Linked DNA regions of Homo sapiens: regions 1 and 3 are each linked to region 2. The links are contacts of gene promoters, found by promoter capture Hi-C in human tissues and cell types (Jung and others, 2019). All regions are on one chromosome and are shown on one strand. The core of a region is centred on a gene start or on the middle of the fragment in contact, and the rest is flanking DNA. Distances in the headings are between cores, read along the strand shown. Region 1 overlaps CHRNA6 (cholinergic receptor nicotinic alpha 6 subunit). Region 2 holds the start of CHRNB3 (cholinergic receptor nicotinic beta 3 subunit). Region 3 overlaps CHRNB3 (cholinergic receptor nicotinic beta 3 subunit).

The links. Contacts are between HindIII fragments. The study calls those that stand out against the background at their distance.
Region 1: a fragment that was not itself captured here is called in contact with the fragment with the promoter of CHRNB3 in region 2 in 1 of the 25 tissues and cell types used here (mesenchymal stem cells).
Region 3: a fragment that was not itself captured here is called in contact with the fragment with the promoter of CHRNB3 in region 2 in 1 of the 25 tissues and cell types used here (liver).

What each region holds. Positions count from the first base shown.
Region 1 is chr8:42,757,089-42,762,187 of GRCh38, forward strand. It overlaps CHRNA6 (cholinergic receptor nicotinic alpha 6 subunit), which reads right to left. Exons shown (of 6, transcript NM_004198.3): 3 at 1,981-2,025. Among named protein-coding and RNA genes, the nearest start is that of CHRNA6, 9.1 kb to the right of the region's middle. The HindIII fragment of the contact is 3,051 bases long and covers 91-3,141 here.
Region 2 is chr8:42,694,906-42,699,471 of GRCh38, forward strand. It overlaps CHRNB3 (cholinergic receptor nicotinic beta 3 subunit), which reads left to right and starts at 2,461. Exons shown (of 6, transcript NM_000749.5): 1 at 2,461-2,693. The coding sequence starts at 2,642. It overlaps LOC124900250 (a long non-coding RNA gene), which reads right to left and starts at 3,986. Exons shown (of 3, transcript XR_001745887.2): 1 at 3,907-3,986; 2 at 2,421-2,595; 3 at 1,593-1,670. The HindIII fragment of the contact is 12,880 bases long and covers 1-4,566 here.
Region 3 is chr8:42,734,761-42,739,698 of GRCh38, forward strand. CHRNB3 (cholinergic receptor nicotinic beta 3 subunit) reads left to right here. Exons shown (of 6, transcript NM_000749.5): 6 at 1,724-2,647. The coding sequence ends at 1,858. Among named protein-coding and RNA genes, the nearest start is that of CHRNA6, 32 kb to the right of the region's middle. The HindIII fragment of the contact is 8,723 bases long and covers 1-4,938 here.

The DNA of each region.
Region 1 (5,099 bases), core at 366-2,865, 61 kb after region 2:
GGCATGGTGGCTCACGCCTGTAATCCCAGCACTTTGGGAGGCCGAGGCAGGCAGGTCACTTGAGGTCAGGAGGTCGAGACCAGCCTGGCCAGCATAGTGAAACCCCGTCTCTACTAAAAATACAAAAATTAGCCGGGTGTGGTGGCCAGCGCCTGTAGTCCCAACTACTCGGGAGGCTGAGGCAGGAGAATCTCTTGAACGTGGGGGGCAGAGTTTGCAGTGAGCTGAGATCATGTCACTGTACTACAGCCTGGGTGACTCTATCTGGAAAAAAAAAATGTGTTTCTTAATAACTTTCTTCCAATGTTAACTTTATGATGGTTCAACAGTTGTTGTTGAAAAAAGAATACATTTGGCCAGGCGTGGTGGCTCACGCCTGTAATCCCAGCACTTTGGGAGGCCGAGGTGAGCGGATCACTAGGTCAGAAGATTGAGACCATCCTGGCTAACACGGTGAAACCCCATTTTTACTAAAAATACAAAAAAAAAAAAAAATTAGCCAGGCATGGTGGTGGTTGCCTGTAGTCCCAGCTACTCCGGAGGCTGAGGCAGGAGAATGGCATGAACCCAGGAGGCGGAGCTTGCAGTGAGCCGAGATCGTGCCACTGCACTCCAGCCTAGGCGACGGACCGGGACTCTGTCTCAAAAAAAAAAAAAAAAAGTGGCCCGGCGCGATGGCTCACGCCTGTAATCCCAGCACGTTGGGAGGCCGAGGCGTGCAGATCACGATGTCAGGAGATCGAGACCATCCTGCCTAACACGGTGAAACCCCGTCTCTACTAAAAATACAAAAAAAATTAGCCGGGCGTGGTGGCGGGCCCCTGTAGTCCCAGCTACTCAGGAGACTGAGGCAGGAGAATGGTGTGAACCTGGGAGGCGGAGCTTGCAGTGAGCCGAGATCGCGCCACTGGACTCCAGCCTGGGCGACAGAGCGAGACTCCGTCTCAAAAAAAACCAAAAAACAAAAAAAAAAAGTAAAAATAATACATTCTTATTTGAAGAATGCATTGGTTGCTATCAAAATCTGGACAATTATATCCATGGGGAACAGGGAGCTAAATAGCTGAGCTGATTTAGGCAAATATTTCATTAGATAATTATGTATTGATTATTAGTTAGCTGGTTAAAGTTTTAGGCTCAACTTCCATATTCCGTGAGCTATACTCACACTGGAGTATAGCTCTAATATCAAAAAGTTCAAGGGTATGATGATAAGCTTTGAATTAAAAAAAAATCTGTATAAACGATTAAGACTTCCTTTCTGTTTTTTTTTTGTTTTGTTTTGTTTTCAAGACAGAGTCTCGCTCTGTTGCCCATGCTGGAATGTAGTGGTGCAATCTCAGCTCACTGCAACCTCTGCCTACTGGTTCAAGCGATTCTCCTGCCTCAGCCTCCCGAGTAGCTGGGATTACGGGCACCCACCACCACGCCGGGCTAATTTTGTATCTTTATTAGAGACAGGGTTTCATTTCACCATGTTGGCCAAGTTGGTCTCGAACTCCTGACCTCAGGTGATCCGCCCACCTTGGGCTCTCAAAGTGCTGGGATTACAGGCATGAGCCACTGCACCCCTCCAAGACTTTCTTAAGGAAGAAAGGTATAACTGATAAAACCAGCTGCTGGGAATCTCATGTACATGCTCCCAAGCTCAGCTACTGACTTCTCCAAGCCTGGTCAAGCAGGGATCAAAGAGCAGGCAAGCATCAGACCCTGGAGCTCAAGTTACAGAAAAGTGGAAGATCTGAGAGCAGCAACCAGGAAGGATGGAAACCTCTATGTCAGAGGGACCTTTGTCACTAAGTGTCTGCACCTGTGAAGCATGCATCAAGTCAGCTATTACCAGAGCTGAACTTTAGGCTTTGGAGATGACCTAGTGGATAATATTTTATATTCTATAACCAGTTGGAGATGGAACAAGGTAGTGCTTGTGGGTTTTATCCATTCAACATCATTAAGCCAACACATGATATAGGCACATACGTGACGCAGCCACAAATTGGTTTCCATGATCTGGTTTACTTCATCCTGGGAAGAAGAAATAATACTTTTAGCCTCAAATGTGCTTGCCATAGAGGTGAGACTTAGAGCAAAAATTACAACTAAAAAGAACCAAATCTGACTTATTCATGCCAATAGAAGAAGACTTCAAGGCAATGTGTGAAAGCATTCAGCATGCAAGCAGAAATGCCGCATTTTCACATCTGGCTCCAGCCCTGTGGATTTTGAGAGGCAATGTGGCTTTAAACTCTTTCATAGCTGATTTAAGCCTCACCTCTTCTGTGAAGTGCTTCCGATCTCTGCAGCCCATAAAGGTTTCTAGTTCCATGAAAGGAAGGAAAGAAAAGAAGAGCGACAGCAGGTAGGAGGGAGGGAGATGCTGCAGAAAGTGGTGAGGATTCCAACCCCGCACAGTGTTTTTGCCTGTTCCCTAAACGCCTCCCATCCTCGACTGTGCCTCAGGGCTCTCTGGGCTCTGAGTCCTGAGACCCCTGCCCTGGGATCCTATCTTGAAATGCCAGCCTCAGCCAGCTGGGCGCGGTGGCTCACACCTGTAATCCCAGCATTCTGGGAGGCCGAGGCGGGTGGATCACCTGAGGTTAGGAGTTCGAGACCACCCTGGCCAATATGGTGAAACCCCGTCTCTACTAAAAAATACAAAAAAATAGTCAGGTGTGGTGGCGGGCGCCTGTAATCCCAGCTACTTGGGAGGCTGAGGCAGGAGAATTGCTTGAACCAGGGAGGTGGAGGTTGCAGTGAGCGGAGATCGTGCCACTGTACTCCAGCCCAGGCGACAAAGACTCCATCTCAAAAAAAAAAAAAAAAAAAGTCAGCCTTGGCCACCATGGGGTTTCCAGCTGGCAGCTGCTACTCACCCCCAGCGAAGCCACCACTTCGATCGTTCACTACACAAATATTTATTGAGTAACCACTATGTGCTCTATAAATATTGGGAATACAGCAATAAGAAGTTGGGAAAAGGTCCTGCCTTCATGTGTCTTAGCTGTTAGATGGGGAGACATAAAATTACTAATACATCTATACTATAACATAAGACAGCGTTAAGTCCTATGAGGACAAATAAAGAGGGATGGAATGGTCCATGTGTGGACACACACACACATATGCACACACACGCACACTCATACACACGCACACTCATGCACACTCACACACTCATGCACACACATTCATACACACATGCATATACACGGTACTCTCATACACACTCATGCACACTCACACTCATGCGCACACACACTCGTGAACACACAATCATGCAAACTCATATACCCACTCATGAATTCTCATACACATTCGTACTCTTATACGTATACTCTCATACACACACTCGTACGTGTGCACTCACACTCATACACACACACTGGTGCATACTCACTCATGCACATGCACTCACTCATGCACATGCACACGCTCATGCACACACTCATACCCACTCACACTCAGGCACACTCACACAGTCATACACAGGCTCACACACTGGTGCACATGCACACACACTCAAACACACTCATGCACACACACTCACAGTCATGCACACACACGCTAGCACACATGTGCACATGATCTCAGTCACACACACACATCTATTTTAGATGGGATGGGCAAAGAAGGCTTCTTTGAGGAGGTAATGTTTAAGCAGATACTTAAATGACCAGAAGACAGTCAGGGCTGTGTGGAGGAAGACCATTCCAGGTGACATCCCAAATGTAATGAGTTCCTAAGCTACCACCTCTCAGTGGGAGAACTACCAAAGACACACCTGGCACCTTGAGTGGCCTTACAGCCCAGCAGCCTGGTGGCTGTTTATGTCCCCAGTGGCCAGCAGCAGATTCACAAGTCTTCCTCAGCCAACCTTGCTTCCCAAGACACCCAGGCACCCTCCAGAGTAAATGAGCTCCATGGTGGTGGCTGAGGGAGTCGTGGTCAGACTCAGACACCAGCTTCCCCTGGGCCACGTGGCTGCCCTGCAGTTCTCTTCTCCCCTACTCCATCCCCACTGCTGCCCCTTCTGGAAAACTCTAAACAGAAACCCTGCTGGGCTTCCTCTTTCAAATGGGCCTGTGACAAGACAGGGTAAGCCCCGGGATTTGAAAGGTCAGCAAAGGAGTTACAGTCATGGGTTCCTGTAGTCCCAGGAAGCAAAGAAATTATCTGTGCTTATCTATTGGTCAACCAATTCATGGCTTTACGATTACACAAGCCTGCGGTCATGCCTTCTGGTAATGAGCGTCCCCTTGCAATCTGCAGAGTCCAGCAGGGGCCATGTCCATAAATCCACTCACTGTTGGTCAGGAATGGACTAGCCCTGCAGTCTCGGTTCCAGGAAGGCCTTGGGGGTGAGGGCATAAGCCCTAACTGCCCTTCAAAGCCTGCTTTGTCTCTGAATAAGCACACTGTGTTCAGAAGGCTGAGATCAGTTGGCAATAGCCAACTCCACAGCCTCACTTCCGCAGGCTCGGAGAAGCTCCAGGTGGTATGGACATGGCCCATGGGGATGTGGACACCTTCAGAGATGTCAGCTGACCCTATGGAGCAGGACCTGTCTGGCAAGTCATACTCTCTCTCCATCCAATTCCAGATCCCACCAATGGGCATGGCACTGCTATCAGACATCTCTGCCGGAGGAGTCCAAAGACCCACAGCATCAACTCCATTCCTGGTGCCATCACCCTGTACCTCCTTCTTGGAAAAATCAATTAATTGACACAGCAGCTGCATCAAAGGCTTTGAGTTATGATTTCAAATGGACTCATTTCTGGAGCAGCAGCAGACTTGGAGACTCGGATCAAAAAGACCAAGTGGGCTGCATTACACCAAGGCTTTATCTTTGTCATTTCAGATATGCCAGGCCAGCACAAACACTGGATCCCTCCGAGGGGCACTTGGCCTTGCTCCTGTACTGAAAGAAACCAGAAAATTTTCTGGCCAAGGTCATTTTGCATGACACAAACACACTTCCAGGTAGAGCCCTGGTGCTCCAGAGCCAAGCTGGGGATCAGACAGCGGGCCTTTTCCAAGGCCTTCCAGAAGGGAGGGGCAACAAAGCTTCCTGGCTGTGCCACTTCTCTCGGCCACCC
Region 2 (4,566 bases), core at 1,211-3,710:
ACTGGAAGGAAGTAAAGCATTGATGGTGATTGGATTAGAATCATGGACTGTAAGTGGTCTTGAAATGTAGTATTAGGATTACACTGCTTTCATGATTACTAAATGCCAATCAGAACTTACATCTTCAATTGAAAGCACACCTGGCCGGGCTCGCACAGTGGCTCACACCTGTAATCCCAGCTCTTTGGGAGGATGAGGCAGTTGGATCACTGGAGGTTGGGAGTTCGAGACTAGCCTGGCCAATATGGTGAAACCCTGTTTCTACTAAAAATATAAAAATTACCTGCACGTGCTGGTGGACACCTGTAATCCCAGCTACTCAGGAGGCTGAGGCAGGAGAATTGCTTGAACCTGGGAGGTGAAGGTTGTAGTGAGGCGAGATTGCGCCACTGCACTCCAGCCTGGGCAACAGAGCAAGACAGCCTCTTTTCCTGTGTCTATTTGATGTCCGCTTTTCCCCCCAAAGTCTAAACTCAATGGAGAGATGATTTGAGGTTTCTACAGTGGGATGGTGAAGAGTTGAGTATCTTTGCAGGGAGAAAGGTGGCTGTAAAGTGAGACAGAAAAGAACTTCCCAAGGCATAGGAAGGGGCTGGCAGGTCCTTCTGGCAGCAGGACCGTGCCCTGCTCAGGGTTGCACTCAAGGGGTGCAGTCCTCAGCAGGCCAGGGTTGTGTGGGACCCAGGGAGGCAGGGTCCTGTTACCAAGGCCTCCGGTATTGGCAGAATCCTGGGTCTTGGCAGAATCCTTGGCATCGGAGAAGGCAAAGAGCAACCGAGCTGTTGGCTCCATGGGACCGTGTGGGTGGGGCATGGACCCCAGCTGTGGTCAAGGCAGCCTGGAGGATACAAGACTGTGCCATATTTTGGGGACCACAAAAGGCTTCCAGATTCAGTTGCTCCCCTAGGGAGAAGGCTGCAGGGCCTGCAATGACTGAGATTGGATTTCCAGCCAGTTCCATGGAAGGCTAGCTTCATTTTATTCAATTTCTTGAAAATAAAGGTGAAACTTCCTGCACACTTGGATTGGCGGTGGCTGATTTACTCCTGAGACCATTACAAATTCTCAGCAGGCTGGGAGCACAGTTGAGATGGATAGGAGGAAATCAGTGCATGGCTCCTTCCTTCCTCCTTGCATTCCCACAACGTTCTCAAGCATTTGCAGGTGTCAGGCCCTGGACACAGAGAGATACAGAGGAGACTCCAGAGGGCTGGAGACCAAGCCCTCCTGCAGGAGCTGGTGGTCTAGGAAGGGAGGCCAGGCAGGGCAGCGACATTGTGATGTGAGGGGCTCTGAGACAGGGGCCCTGAGGAACAGACAGGGCTCAAGAGCTCAGGGTCCCGGGGTCCTGGGCTAGACCTCTTTTCCACACATGATGCCTCCTTACCGAGCACCCTCTGGGTGTCTCAAACTCACTAATGGCACACAGAGGAGGGTTAAATTAAGAAATTTAAAAATTGGACTAAATCACTGCCGCTAAGACAGAATTCCTCCATGCCCTGGAGTGGGTTCCTCCAGCACTCAGTTCCCAACCAGATAGGTCTTGGCTCCCACCTGGCCCTCTTGTCTGTCTAGCCCTGACTTTGTACTTGCCATTCATTTGATGTATCATGCATTTATCAAGGGCCCTCTGGGTGTGCACAGCACTGAACTAGATGAAATCTGATCAACTGTGAAGAAGAAAGGATGGTGTTATTAGTGTCCAAGTCTCATACATAAAACACCACTAACCTCCCACCCTACTGTCCCCTGCAGTGACCAGAAGGTGGGCCTGGTGGGGTCAAGGGAGCCACAGAGAATGTGCTGATATTAACACATGTGGGAACCAGCAGAATAGGGAGGCTCCAGGACATACTCATGACTTCAGGTCCAACTGGAAAAGAGAATAGAGAGGCTGGGCGCAGTGGTTCATGCCTGTAATCCCACCACTTTGGGAGGCCAAGGCGGGCGGATCTCCTGAGGTCAGGAGTTCAAGACCAACCTGGCCAACATGGTGAAACCCTGTCTCTACAAAAATACAAAAATTAGCTGGGCATGATGGCAGGTGCCTATAATCCCAGCTACTCAGGAGGCTGAGGTGGGAGAATGGCTTGAACCTGGGAGACGGAGGTTGCAGTGAGCCGAGATTGCACCATTGCACTCCAGCCTGGGTGACAGAGTGAGACTCCATATCAAAAAAAAAAAAAAAAGAATAAAAAGAAAAAGAAAAGAGAATAGAGAAATAACGGGGATGAGAAACTTTTCACTATGGATGTGGTAAAGTGTGGTTCTTCTGTACGCAGATCTCCAACTGTAAGAAAAATAGCACAGAACATTCAGAAGTTGTCTAGTTTCATCCTTTCTCCAGTGCCCCGCATCTCTTGCAAGGGAGTAAATTAATAAGTCAGGAGTTAGGACCCAGAGATATGTTTTAGACTTACACGATCTGACAGCTGACTGCAAATCAATGAAGTGCACTTTGAGAAGCGGCACACTCGGCGAGAGGGGTTGAGATTGTTTTATTCCACTCCAGGTGTTGCTGTCCTCTTGGGTTCCACTTCGGATTTTGAACCCCTGTATTTTCTTTTCAAAACCCCCTTTTCCAGTGGAAATGCTCTGTTGTTAAAAAGGAAGAAACTGTCTTTCTGAAACTGACATCACGATGCTCCCAGATTTTATGCTGGTTCTCATCGTCCTTGGCATCCCTTCCTCAGGTAAGCACAAGTCACAGTAAATTAAAACTACAGTTGCAGAATTATTTAAGCAGAGGAGGCAAAACTATGGTGTTGATAATGTTAGAATTACAATATGTAATGCACAAGATACATTTAGGATAACCTTTAAAATGTGGCCCAAATGAGTAATTCTGTGAGATGTGGGGTTTTTTTTGCTGAAGAAATCATATCTATGATTTTCATAATGTTTATGTTTTTGTCATTTGCTGCGTTTCTCCTTCTGAATCACTATGAGCTTGGTAAGAAAATACAAAAGCAGGAAAAACATTATTGAATGCACTGAGCATTACTCAGAGAATTGTTCAAATATTTGGCACAGAAATTTACTATATCAACATTTTTCTATCATATTTACCAATAATTTCTATATCTGCATGTAGATATTTAATTTTGTCCAATATGCCCTGTAGGCCTATATATTTTAATAAATCTGTGTATGTAGGTAGATTTAGCATGTTTATATATCACAATTAAACACCAATGTATCAAAACTCTATGTGTTTTATGTGACTATTATCAACTGAAAATAGAGGAATTTTTGATAAGGATAAAGGACAAATAAAAGGAAAAAGTGAAAGATAGAGACAGAGATGCAGAGAAAGAACAAAAAGAGAAAAAGAAAGGGGAATAAAGTACTGAAAGGCTTTGGGGATTGGTCATTTGCACCTGCCAATTTCCTGGGTTTGGGAATCTTTTCACTTTTTGTGTAACTTGAGAACAGAAAGTTTTCCCCCATTGAATCAGAAACCATCTGAAACCGCAGCCAGATGGTGAGAAAAGTGTCAGTTCACTAGCAATTTGTATTAATTTCTCAGTAGTATTTTTGCCACGTTTGATTATTGTAATTTTCAAATGGAGAACTGGAGACACTAAGGGAGATTTGCCCAAATCCAGAAATAAATTCTACATTTCAAGTTCCCAAGGCTGCGAGGCACCTGAACATTATCCTGTTGTCAAAAACGCCTTTTCTCAGACCAAGGACTCAAAGTCAAACAGGAATTTCTAAATGCAGAAAGCCTCAAACTCACTTTCAAATATCATGAAATTTGGACTTTTCAAAGTCTTGAATGCAGTTTGCCAATCACAAAAATGATAAGAAAATTCTGTGTGTTTGAGCTTACCATTAATGTACGTGTGTCTGATGTTTTTCTGTCTTTATTATTCTATTTATTATAAGACAATTGATTCTTACCACTCTTTTCCCAAGGAATGATTTCTCTCAATGGTTAGCGAGGGTGTTTAGCATAAACTCTCTTGGTTCAGCTAAGTCTCGTCCTCTGTGTACAATCATGATTACATAAGAAAACTGGAATTGCTTGGCCTCTGGCATTGGTCTCCATTGTGTGGGCTGGAAGAGTTTGGGAAGATTGTGTAATCTTTCACAGATCTATAATAAATCTAATAACCTGTGATAAATCTTACATCTGTATTTCTAGATCCATCAGCATCTGCTCATATTTTTAAATCTGTCCCATATTTCCTTACATTTTTTAACTTTACTATTCATTGTAAACAAAATAGTTTCTTTTTGTTATGCAAAACTACTTTTTTCAAATTACAAGAGGCAACCCCTTCATTTTTATATTTCTGGCTTTGGTAAAAAGGAGCCTTGGGTGTGGCCATGGGTTGTCTCTCATATTGCTATTTCATATTTTGTGTGTGCTATCTGCTCTCAAAAAGCAGGAGGTGTATCTTATTTATCTTCCCATCTCTCTTACAACATGATGATATGATAAGACACAATGTGTTTATTCATTCAATAAATACTTATTGAGCATCTACTGTATCCTAGGAATGGTTCCAGTGTCTAGGAATGCAAGAGGAAATAAAAACAAAGCCATTTTCTAATAAG
Region 3 (4,938 bases), core at 351-2,850, 39 kb after region 2:
TTCACAGACACTGCCTCATATGTCCTCTCTCTTAACAATCTGTCATGTTTTTCATCCACTTAAAATTGTTTTTAAAAGCACTAGAAAAGTGACTGCTGCTAGACAAGAAACATTCAGCTGTCAAGTTGGGAGAATTTTTTTGTTTGTTTCTTAACATCTTTTAAAAACACTAATACAGGGCCAGGCGCGGTAGCTCACGCCTGTAATCCCAGCACTTTGGGAGGCCGAGGCGGGCGGATCACGAGGTCAGGAGACGGAGACCATCCTGGCTAACAGGGTGAAACCCTGTCTCTACAAAAAATACAAAAAATTAGCCGGGCGTGGTGGCCGGCGCCTGTAGTCCCAGCTACTCGGGAGGCTGAGGCAGGAGAATGGTGTGAACCCGGGAGACGGAGCTTGCAGTGAGCCAAGATCATGCCACTGCACTCCAGCCTGGGCGACAGAGCAAGACTCCGTCTCAAAAAACAAACAAACAAACAAAAAAACACTAATACAGGCCGGGTGTGGTGGCTCACGCCTGTAATCCTAGAACTTTGGGAGGCCGAGGCGGGTGGATCACCTGAGGTCAGCAGCTCGAGACCAGCCTGGCTAACACGTTGAAACCCTGTCTCTACTAAAAATACAAAAATTAGCTGGGCATGGTGACGAGTGCCTGTAATCCCAGTTACTCGGGAGGCTGAGGCAGGAGAACCACTTAAACCCAGGAGGTGGAGGTTGCAGTGAGCCAAGATTGCACCACTGCAGCCTGGGTGGCAGAGTGAGACTATGTCTCAAAAAAGCAAAACAAAACAAAACAAAACAAAAACCTAATACAAAGATTTCTTTTTTTTCCCCAAGACGGAGGACATTTATTTACTCTAGAGGGATGAGGACTCCCCTTCCTTTCAGACTTCCCCAGCCAGTCGTGCCTTGACTTTGTGTTTATGGACCTGTTGCCCACTCTCTGCACCTCCCCTTCCTAATAAAGGGGACTCAGTTTCTTGTCTCCTTCATGAATTCCTGTCTTGTCCTGGTCGGTTCTTCTCCTTGGCAGCACCCTTCCTTCTGGAGCTGCAGCACAGGTGGAGTGGAAGAAAAGAAAGCCTGTGACATTTGGCCACAAAAACTCTTAAATTATAAACTTGTGATTCTTTTCATACGTGTATCAGGAAGCACCCTAGTAAGATATACTGGCTTCCTAAGATATGCTCTGTCTCCTGGGTTCAAGCAATTCTCCTGCCTCAGCCTCCCAAGTAGCTGAGATTACAGGTGCCCGCCACCATGCCCAGCTAATTTTTGTATTTTTAGTAGAGAGGGAGTTTCACCATGTTGGCCAGCTCGTCTCGAACTCCTGACCTCAGGTGATCCCCCCACCCCCAGGCCTCCCAAAGTGCTGGGATTACAGGCGTGAGCCACCGCACCTGGCCTATAGTGGCTCTTTATTCATGTAAAAATCAGACTTTTCCTATTCTGATCAGGAATGTTGACATATGCATACAGAATTCTATTGTTTCTATTTTCCTTCTTCAGTGCTGATGAGAGTGTTCCAAGCTGCTTCTTTTGGGCACAATTAGCGAAGTCCCTGAAAGAACCTGAGCCTGTAGTGTGGTTGGGACATTAGATGCATTTTGAAAACTTAAGTAAATGCTATAAATCTGAATGTTACTCTTTTTTAATCCCTTGAGATGAATACAGAACAGTTGCTCAGTGTCTTGAGTGAAAGGCATCTTTTTCTCTTTTGCAGGTAGTACAAGACTGGAAATTTGTAGCTCAAGTTCTTGACCGAATCTTCCTGTGGCTCTTTCTGATAGTGTCAGTAACAGGCTCGGTTCTGATTTTTACCCCTGCTTTGAAGATGTGGCTACATAGTTACCATTAGGAATTTAAAAGACATAAGACTAAATTACACCTTAGACCTGACATCTGGCTATCACACAGACAGAATCCAAATGCATGTGCTTGTTCTACGAACCCCGAATGCGTTGTCTTTGTGGAAATGGAACATCTCCTCATGGGAGAAACTCTGGTAAATGTGCTCATTTGTGGTTGCCATGAGAGTGAGCTGCTTTTAAAGAAAGTGGAGCCTCCTCAGACCCCTGCCTTGGCTTTCCCAGACATTCAGGGAGGGATCATAGGTCCAGGCTTGAGCTCACATGTGGCCAGAGTGCACAAAAAGCTGTTGCTACTTGGTGGAGGAACACCTCCTAGAAGCAGCAGGCCTCGGTGGTGGGGGAGGGGGGATTCACCTGGAATTAAGGAAGTCTCGGTGTCGAGCTATCTGTGTGGGCAGAGCCTGGATCTCCCACCCTGCACTGGCCTCCTTGGTGGTTTTGTCTGAGCTGCAAACTGGGGCCGTGTTATGCTTGTTAGCAATGGGCCAGGCAAATCTCAACAAGGGTTTGGGGATTACACTGGCAGGATAGCTGGCACTGCACACTTAACAATAACACAGATTCCAAGTTGCCTGGCCTACCGAAGCAGGTGTTATTCATGGTTTATTCCCAGCATGATAAGGCTTTCAGATGGTGAAACTGGAGCCCACTGTGAGCTGTGACTTCCTTTAAGGTCATGCATACCAAAATAACTCACAATAGAAACAAAGCCCTTTGCTACCAGAAGTGGATTCATTAATACCCATTATCTTTTCCTAGTAAACTAGTGTACAGAACATTCTCTGATTAATGGTTTTTGATGTCACCTCGTCTAATCGGATCCATACCAACACTATCCCCTAGGCTCCACCTGCTGTTTCCCTGTCTCCTGGCACCTGGGTGGGCTTCACCCCCACCCACCATCATTCCTTCTCTAAGACTCCGAGGGGAGTCTGCTCAGGTTCTTCTTGCCCTCCAAAATTGCTGCCTCTGCCCAATCCTTCCTGAATTTTAGCTTAAAGCAATTTTTCTCTCTGCCCAGTTATAAATCCAAATCCCTTTCTGGAGTACTTTTAGGCATGGCTCTTGCAAGCAGTTTGCAATCTAGGCTGGGTGGAGTGGCTCACACCCATAATCCTAGCACTTTGGGAGGTCAAATCAGGAGGATTGCTTGAGGCCAGGAGTTTGAGACCAGCCTGCTCTCTACAGCAAGACCCTGTCTCTACAAAAAATTTAAAAAATTAAAATTTTAACAATTTTAGTGATGTGTGCCTACAGTCTCAGTTACTCAGGAGGCTGAAATGGGAGGATCACTTGAACCCAGTAGTTGGAGGCTGCAGTGAGCCATGATTGCTCCACTGCACTCCAGCCTGGGCGACAGAGCAAGACGCAGTCTCTTAAAAAAAAATCTAAGTGGCTGGGCGTAGTGGCTCACGCCTGTAATCCCAGCACTTTGGGAGGCCAAGGTGGATGGATCGCAAGGTCAGGAGATCGAGACCATCCTGGCTAACACAGTGAAACCCCATCTCTACTAAAAATACAAAAAATTAGCCAGGTCCATGCCTATACTCCCATCTACTTGAGAGGCTGAGGCAGGAGAATCACTTGAACCCGGGAGGCAGAGCTTGCAATGAGCCGAGATTGCGTCACTGCACTCCAGCCTAGGCAACAGAACAAGATTCCATTTAAAAAAAAAAAAATCTAAGCATGAAACACCTTCACATATTGTTACCACTGATGTATTTCGTCTTATTAATGCCATTTAGTTTGTGCTTTCTGTATAACATTCTCTTGTTCCTTCACCTTTTTCCCTTCACCTTTTCCCCCACTTTTTCAGCCTTGGCCGAGTTTGTAGTTTGTCCATTCCTTCTTTGCCTTTAATGGCTTGAAAGTTACATGTCCGCTTCTATTAATTTATTAATAAACATTCAACTTTTTAAATCAATGTTGAGAATTAGTGTTTGTGGCTGCCACTTTCTACACAAAATAATTTCTTTAGGACCCTCACTTCCCCTCACCTTCATTTCACTTTTATCACTTTCCACATTTTCTTTAAATCATCCAGAATTTTAGTTCTACATGATTAATTTTTATATTATGTGTTCCTTTCCCTAAGAACCATGTATTCACCACACATTTTGTCCATAACCACATGACAAACAATTTCATTTATTTGTTCATCACTGTTTTTTATCTTAAGCATTCCTCTTTTCCTGCTTCATTTCTTCCATTATTTCAGAAGAGCATGTCTTCAAGTAATTCTTTCAGGAAATATTTGAGTGTGGTAACCTTCTTGAACCCTTGCTTTTCTGAAATTGTAATTTATTTTGCCTTCACATTTAAATAATGGATTGGCTGGGTGTGGAATTCTGGTTCAAAATCATTTTCCCTCGGAGCTTTGAAAACATTATTGTATAATATCCCGTGCTCTAGATGGGAAGCATGCTGGGGTTGATTATTATTCCTCACTCGATAGGTCCCTCTAGGGTTTCAGTTTCCCAGTCAGTAATAAGAAGTATCGACGAAAAGAGTCAAACTCTGCAAAATATTTGAGGAGATGTATTCTGAGCCAAATATGAGTGATCATGACCTGTGACACAGCCCTCAGGAGATCCTGAGGACATGTGCCTAAGGTGGTCAGGGCACAGCCTAGTTTTATACATTAGGGAGACAGGAGACATCAATCAAATACATGTAAGGTTTACAGTGGTTCTTTTTTTTTTTTTTTTTTTTTTGAGATGAAGTCTCGCTCTGTCACCCAGGCTGGAGTGCAGTGGCTCCATCTCGGCTCACTGCAAGCTCCGCCTCCCGGGTTCACGCCATTCTCCTGCCTCAGCCTCCGTAGTAGCTGGGACTACAGGCGCCTGCCAGCATGCCCAGCTAATTTTTTGTATTTTTAGTAGAGATGGGGTTTCACCGTGTTAGCCAGGATGGTCTCAATCTCCTGACCTCGTGATCTGCCCACCTTGGCCTCCCAAAGTGCTGGAATTACAGTCGTGAGCCACCGCGCCCGGTCTACAATGGTTCTATCTGGAAGGGCAGGACAACTCAAAGCAGGGGGGTTGGAGGGGGTTTCCAAGTCATAGGT